6 separate regions of the Homo sapiens genome follow, and regions 1, 2, 3, 4 and 5 are each linked to region 6. Evidence: promoter capture Hi-C in human tissues and cell types (Jung and others, 2019). All regions are on one chromosome and are shown on one strand. Each heading gives the region's core, a stretch centred on a gene start or on the middle of the fragment in contact. The rest is flanking DNA. Distances are from core to core; before and after follow the strand shown.

What was found. Contacts are between HindIII fragments. The study calls those that stand out against the background at their distance.
Region 1: a contact is called between a fragment that was not itself captured here and the fragment with the promoter of PSAT1 in region 6, in 1 of the 25 tissues and cell types used here (aorta).
Region 2: a contact is called between a fragment that was not itself captured here and the fragment with the promoter of PSAT1 in region 6, in 1 of the 25 tissues and cell types used here (adrenal gland).
Region 3: a fragment that was not itself captured here is called in contact with the fragment with the promoter of PSAT1 in region 6 in 1 of the 25 tissues and cell types used here (hippocampus).
Region 4: a contact is called between a fragment that was not itself captured here and the fragment with the promoter of PSAT1 in region 6, in 1 of the 25 tissues and cell types used here (hippocampus).
Region 5: a contact is called between a fragment that was not itself captured here and the fragment with the promoter of PSAT1 in region 6, in 1 of the 25 tissues and cell types used here (hippocampus).

Annotation. Positions count from the first base shown.
Region 1 is chr9:77,882,508-77,885,817 of GRCh38, reverse strand. All of the region lies in intron 2 of GNAQ (G protein subunit alpha q), which reads left to right. Among named protein-coding and RNA genes, the nearest start is that of GNAQ, 150 kb to the left of the region's middle. The HindIII fragment of the contact is 5,721 bases long and covers 1-3,310 here.
Region 2 is chr9:77,942,131-77,945,487 of GRCh38, reverse strand. The region is part of intron 1 of GNAQ (G protein subunit alpha q); the gene reads left to right. Among named protein-coding and RNA genes, the nearest start is that of GNAQ, 88 kb to the left of the region's middle. The HindIII fragment of the contact is 3,237 bases long and covers 1-3,080 here.
Region 3 is chr9:77,969,103-77,972,238 of GRCh38, reverse strand. The region is part of intron 1 of GNAQ (G protein subunit alpha q); the gene reads left to right. Among named protein-coding and RNA genes, the nearest start is that of GNAQ, 61 kb to the left of the region's middle. The HindIII fragment of the contact is 6,234 bases long and covers 1-3,136 here.
Region 4 is chr9:77,907,291-77,910,214 of GRCh38, reverse strand. All of the region lies in intron 2 of GNAQ (G protein subunit alpha q), which reads left to right. LOC107987081 (a long non-coding RNA gene) reads left to right here. Exons shown (of 2, transcript XR_001746758.3): 2 at 1-2,924. Among named protein-coding and RNA genes, the nearest start is that of GNAQ, 120 kb to the left of the region's middle. The HindIII fragment of the contact is 4,825 bases long and covers 1-2,924 here.
Region 5 is chr9:78,011,477-78,014,403 of GRCh38, reverse strand. All of the region lies in intron 1 of GNAQ (G protein subunit alpha q), which reads left to right. Among named protein-coding and RNA genes, the nearest start is that of GNAQ, 19 kb to the left of the region's middle. RefSeq lists a silencer at 1,921-2,073. The HindIII fragment of the contact is 6,830 bases long and covers 1-2,927 here.
Region 6 is chr9:78,295,664-78,298,547 of GRCh38, reverse strand. PSAT1 (phosphoserine aminotransferase 1) reads right to left here and starts at 1,423. Exons shown (of 9, transcript NM_058179.4): 1 at 1,278-1,423. The coding sequence starts at 1,337. RefSeq lists a silencer at 818-1,057 and enhancers at 1,010-1,593, 1,594-2,177, 2,068-2,337. The HindIII fragment of the contact is 7,295 bases long and covers 1-2,884 here.

The DNA.
Region 1 (3,310 bases), core at 466-2,965, 410 kb after region 6:
ACACTTTTTTTTTTTTTGGTCCTTGTTCTTGTTCTTTCTCTTCCTAGTTTTCTCTTTCAATCTCATTAAAAAAAAAAGTTTTAGGGAAATGTAAGTTGTCCAAAATTATGAGTGATTTTTAGTGAATTTGGAAAGAGGCTTTTCTTTCCATCCGTACTGAGACAGTAACCTCAGATTTGGGGCCTGGTATTTCAAACTCTTAAAAGCAAAGGATTGTTTTTGTGGGCTGTAAATGTAGAATGCTGTAGCTACTGGGAAAGTTAAACAGAAATCTAATTTATACTTTTCTCCCTTTCTGAACTCAGTTGCTAAAGCACAGTTAACTCTCAGAGAGTTGTGCTGGACAGGGCCGACCCTGTTGGTATGTGTTTGCTTTTTTCTCCCCTTAACAAATAGAAAGAAAATAGTTCATTAAAACCTACTACCCTCACTTTTCAGCAAAGCTCACTTAGAATTCCAGTTTGTTCTTGGAGTTTTGCTTGCATCCTCATTTTCACCTGGCTGTGTGCCTGGCTGGTCTCAGCCTTCCCCGGCTCCTTGAGCTTGCTGACTTCCTGAGCTTGAGTAGAGTTTAGGCCTCTGTCAGGGTACTCCTGCATGATGAGGCACTGGGAGGTTCCAAAAAAGACCACAACTTTGGGCACATTTCTTCATTGCCCTTACCTCTGGTTTTCTTAGCTACAAAATGAAGGTATGGGACAAATATCTCTAAAACCCATCCGAAACTCTGTTATTACTGTAACAGTAATAGTCCCTGACTTTGGACAGCTTGGTATAGGCCAGGAATCTGTGTAGTCTTATTTAGTCTTTAGAAACCCAGCAGGTGGGTTCCATTATTTTCTCCATTTTACAGATAAAGCTTTGAGAAATGGGTGTATTTCCGCAAGATCACAAAGCTACAAAGGAGAATAGTACTTTCTTTTCAAAATCTCCCTCTCTGAACTCTGACACCTACAAGGGATTGCTGATTCTTGACCAGTTTCTTAACTCACAGTGCCCTTGGGGCATTGACCTCTCCCAGGTAAAATGAGACATTTATAGTTAAGGGAATGCTGATTGAAACTTAGACTATGATGGGGTAGATGGGTGTACTGAGATGCAAACTATGCTTCCCGAGTGAACAGCCACAGCCTGTCCTCCTTAGGAAAGAATGACCTTATTAAGAGCAGCCACCAATGATGACAACAGGTATAGGTGGAGTTTTAGCTTCAGTTTGAGGGGGTGGGGTGGAGAACTTATTCTCCAGGCATCTCTGGCTTTGCAGCTAGGATTCCTAACTCAGATTCCTAACTCCTTATTCACCATTATGGGAAGTCGCACTTTTGTTGCAGCTTGCTTCGTTCATTGTTTTCTTTCATGCTTTAAAATTTTTTCCCGCTTGAAATAAGCCTTCTTTTGGTTTCCTAATAGTCGTTTGCATTTTCTCTTCCTCTGAAATATAGCAGAACAGAGAAGTCAGGCAAAATGGCCAGCAGACTGATTAGAGACAACTGGCACATAGTGGTCCTCAAGGCAGCTGGCTCAGCAGGCAGATTGGATTAGAACAAGCCTTCACACCCCCACAGGGGCTTGCCAGAAGCAAGTGCTGGAGGAGTCACCTACACAGCTTCAGAGAGAATCTTTTTTCCCCTCCCAGTTCCAACCCTGAGAGTGTTTCTGAAGCTATAGAAATGCTAGTAGCTCTGAGCATCTTCTTGGGCTGGCTGTCTCTTTTTGTCAGTTGTTGCATTATTTGCTTCTCACCCAGAGCAGCCACCCATCCTGAGATTTTATCTGCAGTTAGAGAATTCTCCCTCCATTTCTGTTTTGAGGGCATACTTGTTGGTCAAAGACATCCTCTTGTCTTCAGTTAAACCTGTTTTTCTGAAATACCAAAATCTTGAGAAGAATTTGAGAGCCTGTGACAGTGTTAAATAAACTTGGCAGTTTCTACTTCATGAATTATCAAAACTACTTTGGTGGGCAATGAACAGGGAACAGAGACTAGACAGTTTGGATTTGGAGTAAGTGGAGGAAGCAAAGATAGGGTGTGACCACATGGGACAGAGCACATTTTCCTAGAGACCAAAAACTCTGATTGTACCCTGGTCCACAGACTCAGTGCAGAAGCAGGTATATTAAAACCCAAGCCTTATAATAGATACTGGGAATGCCAAAAGCGAGGAGAGTGGGGGCGGGGGCAAGGGTTGAAAAATTACCTATAGGTTCAATGTTCACTAGCTGGGGAATGGATACACTAGAAGCCCAGTCCCCGCCAGTATGCCATATACCCATGTAAAAACATGCACATGTACTGCCTGAGTCTAAAATTAAAACAACAACAACACAGAACCTAAGGTTTGGAAAAAAAAAAAAAAAACTACCCCCTTTTTTCTCTGTCAGAAGTAACCACTGTTCCTCAGCCTACCTAGAAAAGCACTCTACTCTGATTCATAAGTTTCTTTTCTCTAAATCAGGCAATGAGAATGAAGGTACATGAGGTGTCTGGATGTTTTTGATGCTGCTGTAACCATCTGGAGACTCTCATATAGGGCACAGTGTCACTTCCCTGGCCACTGGCAGAGGCTAGGCTAGCTGGGGACACACTGGAGAGAGTCAGGGTAAAGACTTATTTATAGAGAGAAATGGAGAGATGGGACATCAGTTATATTTCAGTTAACTGCTGGAACATGTCCCTACTTAAACTTCCAGCGACTATGTTTTTCCCCGTAACTTAAACAATTTATTTCACTAATCACATCTGTTCTCTTGTAAGATGGTTTCTTGGGTTAGTAAGCTGTGAACTGAAGTGTTTGCATTTTGATTTTAAGAATTTGCTTTTTTTCTCAGAAGGGTGCTAACTCTTTTAGACATGGCTTTGATATATGTGTTTGGTAACAACAATAGACTTATTGGTATGGAAATCATGAGAATAAGTTAAATGCTCAGATAGTTTCCCTCAGAAACAGTAACATATTCCTGTGTATCTCATCTGCACAAAGGCACTTTAAAAATAGTTTATTACAAAAATAATTTAGACAATACAGACAAGTGAAAACGAAAAAAAAAATCCCATCAAGTGTCATTTCCTGATAGGCTTGTGAATACTTCTAAAATAGTATCTTTCTAGTTTTTTTCCTATGCTTTTTTTCTATCTCACCAAAAACTGGATCTCAACACATCATTTTTCATGAACCTCGTGGTGAATACCATTCCATGTCATTTGGCCATCTTCTCTAGCCCTGTGTTAGTGGCTGTGGACTTTCCCATTGTATATCTTTAAACAGCTCGCATAATCAACCCAGGTTGTTGGACATTTAGATTATCTCTG
Region 2 (3,357 bases), core at 213-2,712, 350 kb after region 6:
CCACATGCATAAAATAATGGAGGGCCGTTTTGACCTAGGTTTTGCATGTAATCATAACCCAGACAGACACAACCTGAGGCAGTACATTTAGTTTAGTGGTAACAAAGCAGTGTGGAATTTAAGAAATCTCTCTCTCTCTTTTTTTTTAAACTACTTATTTTCTTACTTTTTGAGTAAAGCAACTTTATAGCTACTTCATATCTGTTTCAAGTGCTACATTTTCAAAGCTGGCAAATAGATTTACCTCTTTTGTGAAGGTGCCACATTAAACACTTAAAAGAAGAAAATCAGCCTTATCTGATGGATGATCCCCAGTTAATAGCCCAAGAACCAATTTGTATTTGGCTTTGCGATGTGTTTTTCTACTTACATTTGAGTATGGGTGTGCCTGATATTCTCGGAATTTACAATACTTCAAACAAATAAGGAAGTTGCACTGTGAAGACAGACTCAGAAGGAACTGGAAAGCTGACAGACCTTTGTGCTTCCCCAGCCGCCTTGCTGAATTCTCTGCGGTGGGTTGAGACCCCTGGTGTTCTTGGATGGGACAGCCCACATGAGCAGAGTGGCTCTCCCTTGTTTCCTTTGCTCTCTTTGGATTTATATCCTTCCAGAACTAGCTGTTTCGTAAAGTATTTAGACTCTGAATACCTGAATTATTCAGATCTTCTTGTCACTCCAATCACAAACAGGTAATTATGGAATCACAGCTGCTTTAAAGAGGCAGTGTGTCATCTTGTGTTCACTGAATATTTTACTGTACTTTACACAGTTAATTTCACACTGGGCAAGCTAAGTTAGTGTCAAAGTGGCAGACCAGATTTCTCTTGCGTTACAATGAGTGGCAGAGGTTGGAGCAATGCCTCAGTGGAAGAAATGGTGGTTCACAGAGTTATGTGAGGGGTCCCATGAACTTCCACCTACTCCCAAACATATTTTCTACTGGGCCTGACCAGAGGGGCCTCAGAGGTTGCTGAATGGTAAGTTTGGTGGAGGAGGGAATAGGAATGGTTTGGTTTCTGGTCTAAAGAGGATATATGGGGTGAGGCGGCTTGATGGTGCAAGGATGATTGAGTGTTTTAAATGAATGGTTTAAGTGACAACCTGCATCTTGTATACACAGCTTCATAAAACAGCCTCTATTGGTTGTTTGATGGAGCCAGGTGATCTGGTATGGCGGAAGATTTGTGAGCCCCACTGGAATAATTCTAAAATGCTTTTATTATAGTTTTTGATTATGAAAGTAATTTATTTTCAAATGTACCAGATTTTTGAAATACTGAAAAGATTAAGAAAAAAAGTACTAGTATTGCCATTAGCCAGATATCCTATTGTTAATATTATGTATGTATTCTGAATGAATCAGTAGATTTTGAACAGGTATCATTCGTTCATACTGCCTGCCTGTTTTCTCTTCTAATATATGAGGAACATATTTTCTCACTATTGAATGTTCTTCTAAAGCAGTATTCTGGTAGTTGCCTAACACCACATGGGACAATTTTAAAATAAGAAGTCACTGGCTAGGCACTGTGTCTCACGCCTGTAATCCCAGCACCTTGGGAGGCTGAGGTGGGTGGATCACCTGAGGTAGGGAGTTGGAGACCAGCCTGGCCATCATGGCAAAACCACATCTCTACTAAAAATACAACAATTAGCCAGGCGTGGTGTTGTGTACCTGTAAATCCCAGCTACTCTTGGGAGGCTGAGGCAGGAGAATTGCTTGAACCCAGGAGGCAGAGGTTGCAGTGAGCCAAGATCACGCCACTGCACTCCAGCCTGGGCAACAGAGCAAGACGTCGTCTCAAAAAAAAAAAAAAAAAAAAAGTTAGTTACTTCCAGGATAAAGGTACTTTATTTTTTTTTCCAATTTGTGTAGTAGAGGAAATCAAGCTTTAATTAAGAGTGGTCTCACATGAATGTGCATACTAGAGATTTATATCATTATAGAAAGAGAAGACACTTTTGAGTTTATCCAGTCTGACTCTTGTAAATATGGGAGAATTGTGACCCATATTATTCCTGTGACTACTGAAAGTCAAACATTTTAATCGCAGAAAAGGGACTAACATTCCCAGTGTTCTTGCCCGTGTCATGTTACATTTGCAAATCTGTTACAACATATTTTTCCTTTTCTCAAGACACGTCGAACATGTGTCAGTATATACTGTAGTTAATATCTCTTAAGTTTCTTTTGTGGTTTGTAGCTTGGCTTTAAAATGATCTTGAGGCTCAAATTTGACTCAGGAACCAAAACCCCTGAGGGGAGCCCTTTCCTTGGTTCCCTGGGTTAGAATAATCTTCAAATCTATGTTGACCTGAGAGCTTTTGAGGTCAGAAATGGGTTCTGCAATGCCCAACATCTGCCTTGTGAGGTTATTAGTCTTATGTGCTAACTGGGACTAGTGGAACTTCTAAAAATAGTACTCTTTTTTCATGGATTTTGTTTCTATCCATTAAGAAGTCATCATTCCCAGCCCATTTAATGATAAATGAAAACCAGAAAGGTAAATTCACTCATTTACAGTCAAATAACCAGTTGGTTAATTATTGGATCCAAGTGCAGCAGATTTGCAAGGATTGCAAAGATTGCTTAAAATTTAATTTGTAAATGCTTGTTAGAAATTTGTAAAATACAGACAAAAAGATAATATAACCTGTATTTTTACAAGCCAGACACAGCTATTGATCATATTCTGGTAGATTTCAAGTGTCTTTATTTTTAAAAGTTTTCTACATGTGGATATTTGAAGGGGTGCAGTTGAGATAATTATGCATTACCCTTTTTTCTTTGATCCTCTACTGTGTTTAGGGTCCTGAGGTCAAGGACTATGAGGAATATATGTGGTGGGGTGTTGATTGATTTTCTACTTTTTGGTGAGTTTCCCAGGAAATCTATTGGGAATGCCTTATTATTTTTTGTTTCCATTGATTAGGACAAGGGTTACTAATGTAAAGGCTGTGGTTTTCATCCAGCATGCCAGTTCTGTTTCTGCTCTGTCCAGCCAACCATTTTGCAAGTATATCACAGTACTCACAAAGCAGAGTGATGGATCACTGCAGAATTAAGAAAAACAACTCAACCCAAAACATGTTCTGCTAATGGCTCACTAGTAAAATCATTCCATTATATAATATTCAAATTCCTTCATATAATACTTGACCACTCTCTGACATTTTCTTGTATATTTTATCTCAGTTTTATCTTCACAAGGCTGGTCTTAGAGGAATTCCAAGTACAGCCCCAAACTACCTCACCTTCCACATCTTCTGACTTAAAGAACATGATCTTTTAACTCTGTTACCAGTTCTGTTACATCTTTGAAGTAAAGTCCTTGTAAGGGGATAGACCTTTTT
Region 3 (3,136 bases), core at 34-2,533, 330 kb after region 6:
TTTTCTCTTGGGTTTTTTAAAGAAAAGCAATTATATCATCCCCAAATACTAATGATTTTGTTTCTAGTATTTTTTTTTCATTTTAATTGTTATTATTTTGGCTAGAACTTTCCTTGTAATATTCAATGATAGTCACCCTGTTGCAGATGACACGATTGTACATTTAGAAAACCCCATCATCTCAGCCCAAAATCTCCTTAAGCTGATAAGCAACTTCACCAAAGTCTCAGGATACAAAATCAGTGTGCAAAAATCACAAGCATTCCTATACACCAATAACACACAAACAGAGAGTCAAGTCATGAGTGAACTCCCATTCACAATTGCTACTAAGAGAATAAATACCTAGGAATACAACATACAACTTACAAGGGATGTGAAGGACCTCTTCAAGGAGAACTACAAACCACTGCTCAGGAATAAGAGAGGACACAAACAAATGGAAAAACATTCCATGCCCTTGCCAGAACTTCCAATACTATATTGAATAGGAGTGGTGAGAGAGGGCATTCTTGTCTTATGCCGGTTTTCAAAGGTAATGCTTCCAGTTTTTGCCCATTCAGTATGATATTGGCGGTGTGTCTGTCATAAATAGCTCTTATTATTTTGAGATACGTTCCATTGATACCTAGTTTATTGAGAGTTTTTAGCATGAAATGCTGTTGAATTTTGTCGAAGGCCTTTTCTGCATCTATTGAGACGATCATGTGGTTTTTGTCGTTGGTTCTGTTCATGTGATGGATTACGTTTATTGATTTGCGTATGTTGAACCAGCCTTGCATCCCAGGGATGAAGCCATCTTAATTGTGGTAGATAAGCTTTTTGATGTGCTGCTGGATTTGGTTTGCCAGTATTTTATTGAGGATTTTTGCATCGATGTTCATCAGGGATATTGGCCTAAAATTCTCTTTTTTTGTTGTGTCTCTGCTAGGCTTTGGTGTCAGGATGATGCTGGCCTCATAAAATGAGTTCGGGTGGATTCCCTCTTTTTCTGTTGATTGAAATAGTTTCGGAAGGAATGGTATCAGCTCCTCTTTGTACCTCTGGTAGAATTCGGCTGTGAATCCGTCTGGTCCTAGACTTCTTTTTGGTTGGTATGCTATTAATTATTGCCTCAATTTCAGAACCTGTTATTGGTCTATTCAGGGATTCAACTTCTTCCTGGTTTAGTCTTGGGAGGGTGTGTGTATCCAGGAATTTATCCATTTCTTTTAGACTTTCTAGTTTATTTGTGTAGAGGGGTTTATGGTATTCTCTGATGGTGGTTTGTATTTCTGTGGGATCGGTGGTGATATCCCCTTTATCATTTTTTGTTGCATCGATTTGGTTCTTCTCTCTTTTCTTCTTTATTAGGGGTCTATTTTGTTGATCTTTTCAAAAAACCAGCTCCTGGATTCATTGATTTTTTTTGAAAGGTTTTTTATGTCTGTATCTCCTTCAGTTCTGCTCTGATCTTAATTATTTCTTGTCTTCTGCTAGCTTTTGAATTTGTTTTCTCTTGAGTCTATGGTTCTTTTAATTGTGATGTTACGGTGTTGATTTTAGATCTTTCCTGCTTTCTCTTGTGGGCATTTAGTGCTATAAATTTCCCTCTACACACTGCATTAAATGTGTCCCAGAGATTCTGGTACGCTGTGTCTTTGTTCTCATTGGTTTCAAAGAACATCTTTATTTCTCCCTTCAAATCTTAGTCTATGTTTTTAAAGTTAATGTTTTAAGGATGAATAGGCAGAATGGGAAGAGGACTGCCCCTGCCTTCAACCCCAGATTTTGATTATAGCCCACCATACTGCCTTTGAAAAGCCATAGGTGCCTCTCTTCCTGATGTGTGTGTGCAGTTGGGCCGTTGGTAACTTTTTGATAACACTGAATCAAGTTGGGAAGAAAACTTGTGTCCAGGGCAGATGTGATGCAGGTTTGCAATGTGGAACTGAGCAGGAGCACGGGGCAGAGTAGAGAGGAGGAGTTTGTGACTCAGTCAGTTTTTTTTGTTTGTTTGTTTGTTTTTTTTTTTTTGTGGAGATGGAGTCTTGCTCTGTTGCCTAGGCTGGAGTGGAGTGGCATAAATCTGGGCTCACTGCAACCTCCATCTCCCGGGTTCAAGCGATTCTTCTGTCTCAGCCTCCCAAGTAGCTGGGATTACAGGCGTGCACCACTGCACCTGGCTAATTTTTGTGTTTTTGGTAGAGACAGCGTTTCACCATGTTGACGAGGCTGGTATCAAACTCCTGACCTCAGGTGATCTGCCCGCCTCTGCCTCCCAGAGTGCTGGGATTACAGGCATAAGCCATCACTTTCGTAACAAGGTTCAGATCTTTGGCTCATGAAGTTGCTCATGAAGAATTTGGTGGTGAGTTAGAGAAATGGGTACTGGTCTCTGTGTCTACGGAATGCATGCCTGAAATTAAGACAACACTTTGCTCCTTTTGCCTTACATTTAGTAGGCATGCATTACATGCCTGATGGATATATGAATTTGATGCCTTCACATATTTAAAGAAAGAGCTGCCCCCAATTTCCTGGAAAATCCATAGTGTTGAACTGTTGATGTGGCTAGAAAGTAAGCTGGGTTGTTTTCCAGTGCTCTTCAAACTACTGAAGATTTTGCTGTGCGATATTTAAAACTGTTAGTGTATTAGTAAAATTCATAGTATGTACTTATATAAAACATACATTAGTATAATCTGTATTATATATAATGTAACCTCTCTTCCATCATCTACATTTTATGACTTTTTGTTTCTAAGTTGGCCTTAATTGTATTCTTCCATGTCAGGAAATGTTAAATTGGCTGTCGCATCAGGCTAATTGTATAGGGAGGCAAGATCTTGGGCAGTAAAGCTAATTCCTGAGTTTAAATTGGAAACTTTGATGATTGCATTAACTTTCAGTCCAGCAAAAATTCTTAAATTGATGCTTTAGGGCGCTGGATGGTAATTCGGGTGTGTTAGAAAATTACAGGGAATCACAGGAGTGTGAAATCATTAAGAAAACCACAGTTGTATTTACCACCTGCCAGGTGGAAAGGCCAGAGGGAGAATTGGGGTGTTGAATAAGACTGAATGGGCTGCTTGGCTGCATTATGAAGGAGTTACTGTATCTCCCTGGATTAGCAATAACAGACCTGGGGGTGCAT
Region 4 (2,924 bases), core at 286-2,785, 390 kb after region 6:
ATCTCAGTGATGCACTTAGTTTTTGCTATTGTAGAAAATCAGGGTAGTGCTTACTTAATATTTAGCAAAGCAATAGTTTCCTTCATTTTAATAGCATGTATCAAAACCTAAAAACTTGTTGCTTCTCAGGAATTGTAGTCTTATTCTTTATTATATTGTTTTGCCCTAAATTACTTACACCTGCTATGCAATTATGTTTTTAAATAGTATGTTGTTAACCTACTCATGATTTTCATTAGTACAAGCATGTATATCCAAACATGAATATCAGCAAGAAATGCACTTTAAAAAATGACTTTTTGTGTCATTTCATGTTATATTATGATACTTTTCCTTTCAGGAGAGAAAAAAATAAGCTCTTCATTAATAGCTGCAGTTACTCATTTTGGCTTTTCCCGTATAAATGTATACTTTTACCACCTTTATTTTCCTGATTTTATGTTTCTTAAAGTGAATTTGTTAAGAAGATACCTTTAAGTTGTTGCTACCACTTTGTAAGATGCATATGCAGTTGTTGTTTTTTTTTTTTTTACTATCTTGTGTTATTTGTTAAAACTGAAATGTAACTGAAAGGACTGGCATATATCAAGAAATGTGATATCCCCGCTGAGATGAGCAGTAGTATTGGATTGGCTGGTAGGTTATCTGCTTCTGTCAATGTGCACACTTCCTTTGTGGTAAAAAGTATAACGGTTTTGAACTAAAAAGAAGACTGTACTGAGTGTTGTCGATATTGGCCTCCCTGTGAGGTGGTGAAACGTCCTTAAAAACAGTGCTTCTGTGGTAAGAGTTCAGTTAATTAGGTGATTGTGTGTGCATTCTCTAAGGCACTAGCCTAGTCTTTCTTCTCTTGACCGTCTTCTAGCCATTTTACTATCTACTGGGCAGCTGGTGGATGGCAACAGGATGAGATCATGTAGCTGTTTGATTGTATTAATGGAACACTGCAGTCAAAGTACCTCACTAAAGTTGGGGATTAAAATACTTTTAGATTCACCTTTCAGTTGACCTTGATCCTTGGCATAAAATAATCAATACCATATGCTTTGTGGGTGGCGTGTATCAGTGTTGTGCAGTTTTTGCCAGCCATGGAGGAGAATGGTGGCCCAGAGGAAGGGGTGCCTTTTTCTCTCTACAGCACTCTCTTTTTGCCAGACTCTATAAACAGAAAGTGGAGAGGTGGGTACATTATTCTCATATGCACAGAAGTGCCACATATTCCAGTGATGACAGCTTTGGGTCTTCCTAACTGAATGTGAGGTTGAGAACATTGATTTTGTGTTCTAGAGTATTGCTTCTCGAACTTGAATATGTATACAAATCATGTGAGGCTCTCATTAAAATGCATATTTGTATTTCAGTAGATCCAGGGTGGGCCTGAGATTCTGCTTTCCTCACAAGCTGATGCTGAAGCAGCCCAAAGTAAAGGCCTCTTGGAAGTAACTGACTCTCTGCCACCAGAGGCAATATGAAATCACCAGTAGGCTACCTTTTGGAGAGAAGATCCCAGAAAATACTTCAATAGGATTTTGGCCATGAGACATTCAGCAAATTATTTAAACTCTCCATGCTATGCCTTGTCGGAAATGTGAGGAGATAATAGTATTCACTTTGTATGGTTAGTGTGAGCATTAATGACAATATATAGATGCAAAACTTTTGGGACAATAACATCAACATAGTCAGTGTCTACTAAATGGTTGTTGAATTCTTCCCAGAAAGTGCTAGGTCAGGAGAAATGTATATCTGTTTGGGGAAAGTGCACAGTATTTGAGAAGAAATTGCTTATTGTTTAAAGACATACAAGAGGCTATGATCCAAGAATGAGACTTGGGTTCCATGATCCGGTGCAACAGTGGTTTCTTGGGAGCAGTGGCTGGCCTCTGGTAGGATTTAAGGCATCAGAATGTCAATGAAAGTGGGGGCCCTTCTGAAGGGGTTCATGGATTTCTGTCACTGCTGAGATAAAGGAGTCTTAACTTTTTTCCCTTGACTGCAGGGTGTTTGTAAGGTAAGGAAGGAGGCAGATAGTCGAATAACGAAAGAGGCAAAGGGACAGAAGAAAAAGGGAGAGAAATAACTTTAGCCAACCACTTCTGGGCCTTTTTCATTTAATATGCTCCAAAATGTGAGGTAAGTAGTAGTGTTCTAATTCTACAGATGAAAAATGTTTAAAATACCTGCCCCAAATAACTCAATTTTTAAGTTTATGGGGCTGGATTAAGCCCAACCCAGAATTAGGCTTAATTCCCTAAAGGCAGCTCGTATACTTGACTCCATAAACACCTTTGGCACCTAGGACACATGTATTTAATTTTCTTGTGCAAAAGAGTAAATGCAGTTACCTGTGGCCACTCCAGCTGTCTTTCCACCACTTCAGCCAGCTAAAGTTACTGCCGTGTCCCCAGGACCTAGCAAAGGGCCTGACCCACAGTTAGGCTCAGTAAATACTATGGAATGAATGAGTCAGTATTTAATCAGAGAGCCGATTACATGATACCACTATTATTATGGATCTTTTAAACTTTTAACTCTGATACCACCTATTTGATTTCTCCTTCTTGACTGTACACTCCTTTTACTTGTTCTTTATGTTTTTTGTTAATCCACACACTTCACATCGACTTAAATAATTTTTAAAATGCCACCAAGTATTTTTCATTTCTCTTCGAGCCAGAGGAAGTGTAAGACATGTACTTTGCTTATGGGGACTTGCAGTCTCATTGGAGAGGCAAGATACTTAACAAAATTATTTAGTTCTTTAATGTGCAGTCAAGGCAGAGTTTCTATAGGAAAGCTCATATATTCTTTCTTTCTTTCCTTATTTCCCTTTCTTTGCCTCCTTTCCTGCTGTTCTGGGTTGGTGCATGTAGTGATGCATCTGGCAGTGCTGGGTGTTTGTCCATTTTCTGACCATTTCCCAT
Region 5 (2,927 bases), core at 88-2,587, 280 kb after region 6:
ATCTGCCCGTCTAGGCCTGCCAAAATGTTGGGATTACAGGAGTGAGCCACCACGCCTGGCCTAAAGTTTTTGTTTTTTTAAACCTCAGCCTGAGTGAATCTTTTCTTAAAATAGTTGAGTTTGTTCTTGTTACACTTGATGTATGATGAATAATGTTAGGGTGTATTGGCGTCTGATTTCTGTTTTCTGATTCTTTCTTGATTTCTTGCAGCTACCCCTATTCCTCCTCCATTATTTCCTTTTCTCTTTCTCACTCCTTTGGAATTTGTATTGGGTTTGTTGTGCTTTCCACACTGATAATTTGAAAGGTATGTACTCTGCTTTTAATTTTACTGTTGGTAGCCTATATAACTTTTAGTAGTCATATTCAATTTATGTTTCTCAGTTTATCATCTTCAGAGATCAAATGGTATTATATGTCCCTCCCCTGCATGGGAGGGAAATTTTTTTCACCTATACCAAGGATCATCAGCAAACTTTAAGGGTTAGATAGTAAACATTTTTGGCTTTTGGGCTATATGGCTTCTATTAGAACTACTCAACTCTGCCACAAACAGTTTGTTAATAAATGAGTATGGCTATGTTCAAATACAATTTTATTTACAAAAACAAACAGAAGCAGGATTTGGCATTCTGGCAGGTATTTGCCAACCTCTGATTACTCCATTTTCTGCTTTTTGTGGTATTTTATTTGCGTGTATTAACTTTTTTGTTCCTGTCTGTTATAGACAAATTAGCAATACCAGACTTAGAATGGTTCTCTAAGTCTTCGTGGTTAGTAATAACATCAACACATTTTATTTTATATATTTATTTTCTTAATAGTCTTCTCAGAGGCAACATTGGATATATAAAATGATAAAAGTCTTGTTAGAAATGAGAACACATGGACGCAGGAAGGGGAACATCACAAACCGGGGCCTGTTGTGGGGTGGGGGGAGCGGGGAGGGATAGCATTAGGAGATATACCTAATGTTAAATAACGAGTTAATGGGTGCAGCACACCAACACGGTACATGTATACATATGGAACTAACCTGCATGTTGTGCACATGTACCCTAAAACTTAAAGTATAATAAAAAAAAAAAAAGTCTTGTAAGAAAAACATAAAATTGTCAATGGCTAAGGGCATCTTTCTGAAGTCTAGGATTTATTGATGGTTATTAAAAGGCTAAGCATAAAATTGAAATTACCTTAATTTCAATATAATATGGGTATTTGTGTCAGATGGAAGGAGAGGTGTTTATGGTGTTCAGATCACTGCCACGTTCATTGCTCTAACTTACATTTCCTTTATTCTGTTCTTCCTCCTGATTACGGATTCCTAGCAATTCACCTATTTCTGCCCTCTTAATCCTGAAGTAGTTTACTCTTCTTTCCACTTACGCCCCCTTTCTTCACTGTCTTTTGTCCATCTCTGCTAGCATCAAGTTAATATTTGATCTTGCAGCCAATGTGATCTTTAATGTTTTGAAAGTGATTCTGTAGTAGTTTCTCAAATTTCATACCTAGAGTTTATTTATTTTCACACTTTCTAAAACTCTTAGCCCTTTGATTTCATATTGAATATCAGGGATGATCACAGGGAATCATTATAATTAAACCTAAGGAACCTCATTTAAGTATATTGTCATTTATCACTTATTCTGTTTTCCTTGAGAAATTGTGTACATATATGTATATATATATTTGTGTCTGCAATTAAGATGCATATTTAGCATTAGTTCTGTGTTTAAATGCTTATCACCAAATATTTCTTCTCTCAATTTAATTATATGCTTTTATTTATTTTTATCTATGAGTTGGCTAGATTATACCTTCAGATAGGTTTTTAAATGATGGGTCCATGGGTGATATATTTCCTGAATTCTTGGGTATTTGAAAATGCCTTTCCGAGGCCAGGTGAGGTGGTTTACACCTGTAATCCCAGCACTTTGGGAGGCCAAGGCGGGTGGATTACAAGGTCAGGAGTTCGAGACCAACCTGGCCAACATGGTGAAACTCTATCTGTATGGCGCGCACCTGTAATCCCAGCTACTTGCAAGGCTAAGGCAGGAGAGTCACTTGAACCTGGGAGGTGGAGGTTGCAGTGAGCTGAGATTGTGCCATTGCACTCCAGCCTGGGTGACAAGGTGAGACTCCGTCTCAAAAAAAAAAAAAAAAAGAAAATGCCTTTCTGTGGCATGCACATATTAATAACAACTTGCATGGGTATAGAATTCTTGGATTAGACCTCTTTTTTACCTACCTTGCTTGCCACGTAGTAGATTTTTCTCCATTGTTTCCCAGCAGATAGATTTGATAAGTCTGTGGCCAGCCTGAATATTTTTTCTTTGTGATTTGCTTTTTTAAAAATTTGGTTATTTGTTTCTATAACATGAAAGCTTAACAACGTATCCAGGTTATGCTTCAGTGTTTTATAATTTTTGTTATTTATCTTGAAGCACTGAACCCACTCCATCTCTATAATATTCTTTCATTTCAAGGATCTTGCCTATTTTATCATTGAATTTTTTTTAATATTCCACAGGAATTGTTTTTCTTCTTTAGGTACACCAATCATTCATAATTGAATTTTTGTTGTTTCTCTGCCAAAGCTGTTAGCTTCCCTCTAATTGCTGTATCTCTCCATTATTTGTGTGGTTTGCCCAAATCTCTTGTCTGCAATGCTGATTTGGCACTGTTTTGAATATCAATGTCAAGTGCCAGTAAGTAGGTGTTAAATGAATGAAGTACCTGCTATCTCTTTGATGCTTCAGATTCATTTTTAAGTTCTGCAGTATTATTGTTTTTTCTCCTTATTTCCTTTCTTAGTTCTGACAATTTTTGTTTCACCTTATTTTTTAGAATGTCCTATTTCAACAATGCACATTTTGTTACATTTTCTTGATATAGTGCAAAGCAATTATAGTCCATTTTTTTCTTC
Region 6 (2,884 bases), core at 174-2,673:
AACATCTCCACAGCTGGAGCAGGGAATCTCGCCTAAAATGAACTGTAACCACTGAGAAAAAATAAGCCCTGTCCTCTCAGCTACTGTGAGCGCTGCCCCTAGAAAAGTAAGAAGTCCTTTCCCCTTTAAAATTGGATTCTCTGTTCTTACCACAACACAGAGGAGGCTCTGTCCCAGGGAGATTTCTACTCTGCTCAACAATTGATAATTGTAAAATACTTGGCTATGCCTCATGCTGCTCCAACATATTATCAGCTCTATCCTGGTTAGAAAAATAAAAATCTAACGGCGGCGGCAGCCGCCTGACAATGGGCTCAAGGCACATCGGAGACTTTGCCTTCTTCACTGCGGGTGGGGCTGGGGACGGTGGGTTTGGCGGGGGAGGGGAGGAGCCGGGCTGGGGCCTGGGAAGGCAGAGAGTGAGTTCCACCAGCAAGATCTGATTGTGGCCCGGGAGAGAATTCAATCACTCGGTTTACTCCAGAACGAAATGAACAGGGAATTGGGTTAAGCAGCCCAAAGTCTACCAGAGTTAGAATACTCGAACGCCTTTAGGGGACAAGCAGGTTAAAAAAAGGAGGGGGGTGGGGAGAAAGGCTTTAGGAAAGGGTAGGTTCTATGGGGGACAAGGAGGGGAAAGCTGGACTGAAGGTTTTCAAATTTACATTTCTGAAAAGCAGTGTTCCTAAGTGCTGGCTAAAGCAAACACTGGTGTAAGGCGTAGGGGGGCACGCACACGCGGACCTTTAAGTTTGCAATCCCTTTCAGCTAACGTGATCCACTGCATATGCAAAACCTGTCATCGGTTCATTCCCGTTCATCACTCATTCACACTATGTCCATTCATGCATCCGCTCCACACTGCCCGGGCTCGCCGCACAGCTGCGCGAGGCGAAGGCAGAGATCAGAGCTTTTTCTTTTTCGCCCCGCCCCAGCCCCCGGACCGGCCCAGGAGATGGCACAGCCCGGGCGTCTGCAGGTGCGTGGCACCGGCGGGACAGCAGGCCCCGGCCAGCTGAGTCGTGCACTGCCTCGCACCAGCAGTCAGGGCCAGGGGCAGCTGCACGGGCACGCCTCGCCGAGCTTCCTCACCAACTGCATTCTTCCCGAAGCCCGCTTGCCGGAGCTGCTGATCCCGCTGTGCACGCTGATGCAAAGCGCCTAGGGGACTCAAGGCAGGGAGCGGGAATCCGACTGCCACACGCAGGGATGCAAACCCACCCGCGTGCGTGCTCCCGCCTGAACCTCACTCCCGGCGCCCGCTCGCGGGGACTTACTGAGTGCGGCAGCTTGGCGGGACCAGGCCCAAAGTTGACCACCTGCCTGGGGGCGTCCATGGTGCGGCGGCCAGGGCGGTGAGTCAGCCAAGGAGGACCGAACGCGTGAACGGCTGGCGTTCCTGGCCGCTGCGGTGAGAGTCTGCAGCCGGCCCCGAACCCCCGCCTTGTTCCTGCGCCGAGTCGGCGCCCCATTGGCCCGTGCTGTCGCAGGCCCTGCGCTAATTGGTTCGCGCGAAGGAGCTCACATCCCCATTGGTCGCGCTTCTGAGCCGAGTCGAAGCAGTTGCTCCTCCTCGCGTTTACTGTTTCAACCCCCATTTTTGATCAATGCAAGGAGCGCGCGAGATTGCGCCAGCCAGCCGAGCCGGCTCGGCTGCGCGCCCGCCCGAGGATTGTGGGCGGCGGGAAGAGGCTGCCCCTGCCAACCTGCCTTCGCCCCTTGAGCCCGCAATCTGGCCGGTTCCAGTCCTCCAACCCCAGAGGACCTCAGCTCCTCTCTCTTGGCTGAAAGGGCAGTTGCCGAGCAGATTTGTAGCCCCCATCCACCCACCTCTCCACCACCAGCCCCCAGTTTGGGCTGTGATGTATTTGTTCCAGAACCACCAGTCACTAATCTACCAAACTTTTCTAAGCACCCCCCACGGGCGTCAGATACCCCAGTGGAGAGAGAGGACCCCCCCAAGGTTGGAAGCGCAGGATGAAGAAGGGCCGGGGGTGGGTGGATACGGTTCTTTGTATTTGCACGTGGGTCCTGAGTTCCTGCAGGATTAAAGAACGGAGGTGGCCAAGGACGCAGGGAGGAGCGATAGCCTGGGAAGCGTGGATGCCCGCCAGGCAAGTCCTTTAAAGTCGCTGATTCTCCATTTCCTCCTTTGGGAAACGAGTGAGCTGGAAACCTGCGACAGCTCTCAGGTTGCGCCCGCGCTGACAAGCTGTGAGTTTAGAAACGTGAGGAGATATTAACAAGAACGCGATACCCATAGGGCGCTGCAGCCCAAACCAGAAGAAGGTGGCCCCTAGCCAGGCCAGGCGCAGGGCCAGAGCTGCTCAAACTTTTCCACAGAAGTGTCCTTCTCAAAAGAACTCCAGTGGAGACCCGCATGGGGTTCTGAAACAGAATACCCTCCCCCTACCCTGCAAGAAAGAAGTTCCTTTGAAGTCTGGAATTTCATCATTTTTAAACTGTGAATTTTGCATTCTCTACCATAATTTAACCTAGTTTCTTTTAATGTAAAAATATTTTCCCTGTCTGAGTAAAATTGATGCGCCAGGAATATATACAGTCCAACTGCCCCGTTTAGAGAAGGCTTGTAACTGGACAGGACTTTGGCTTTTGTTTGCTTTTCCTAATGAGAATGTGGGCGGTATGGGGCTGAGAGCAGAGGCACTGCTCTGGATCTGGGAATTGGAGGACAAAGTTTCCAGAAAAAGGCAAAATGAACAAGGCCCCTGCGTTCCTCAGCAACTTCATTAAGAAAACCGCGACATTCAAGACAGAATAAATCTCAGCCCAGAAACTCAGGCATGCAAGAAGCATCACATATCCATTATTTTACGTAAATAACTCAGTTATTATATATTAGTAGCTGCCCCTAGCAGCTTAT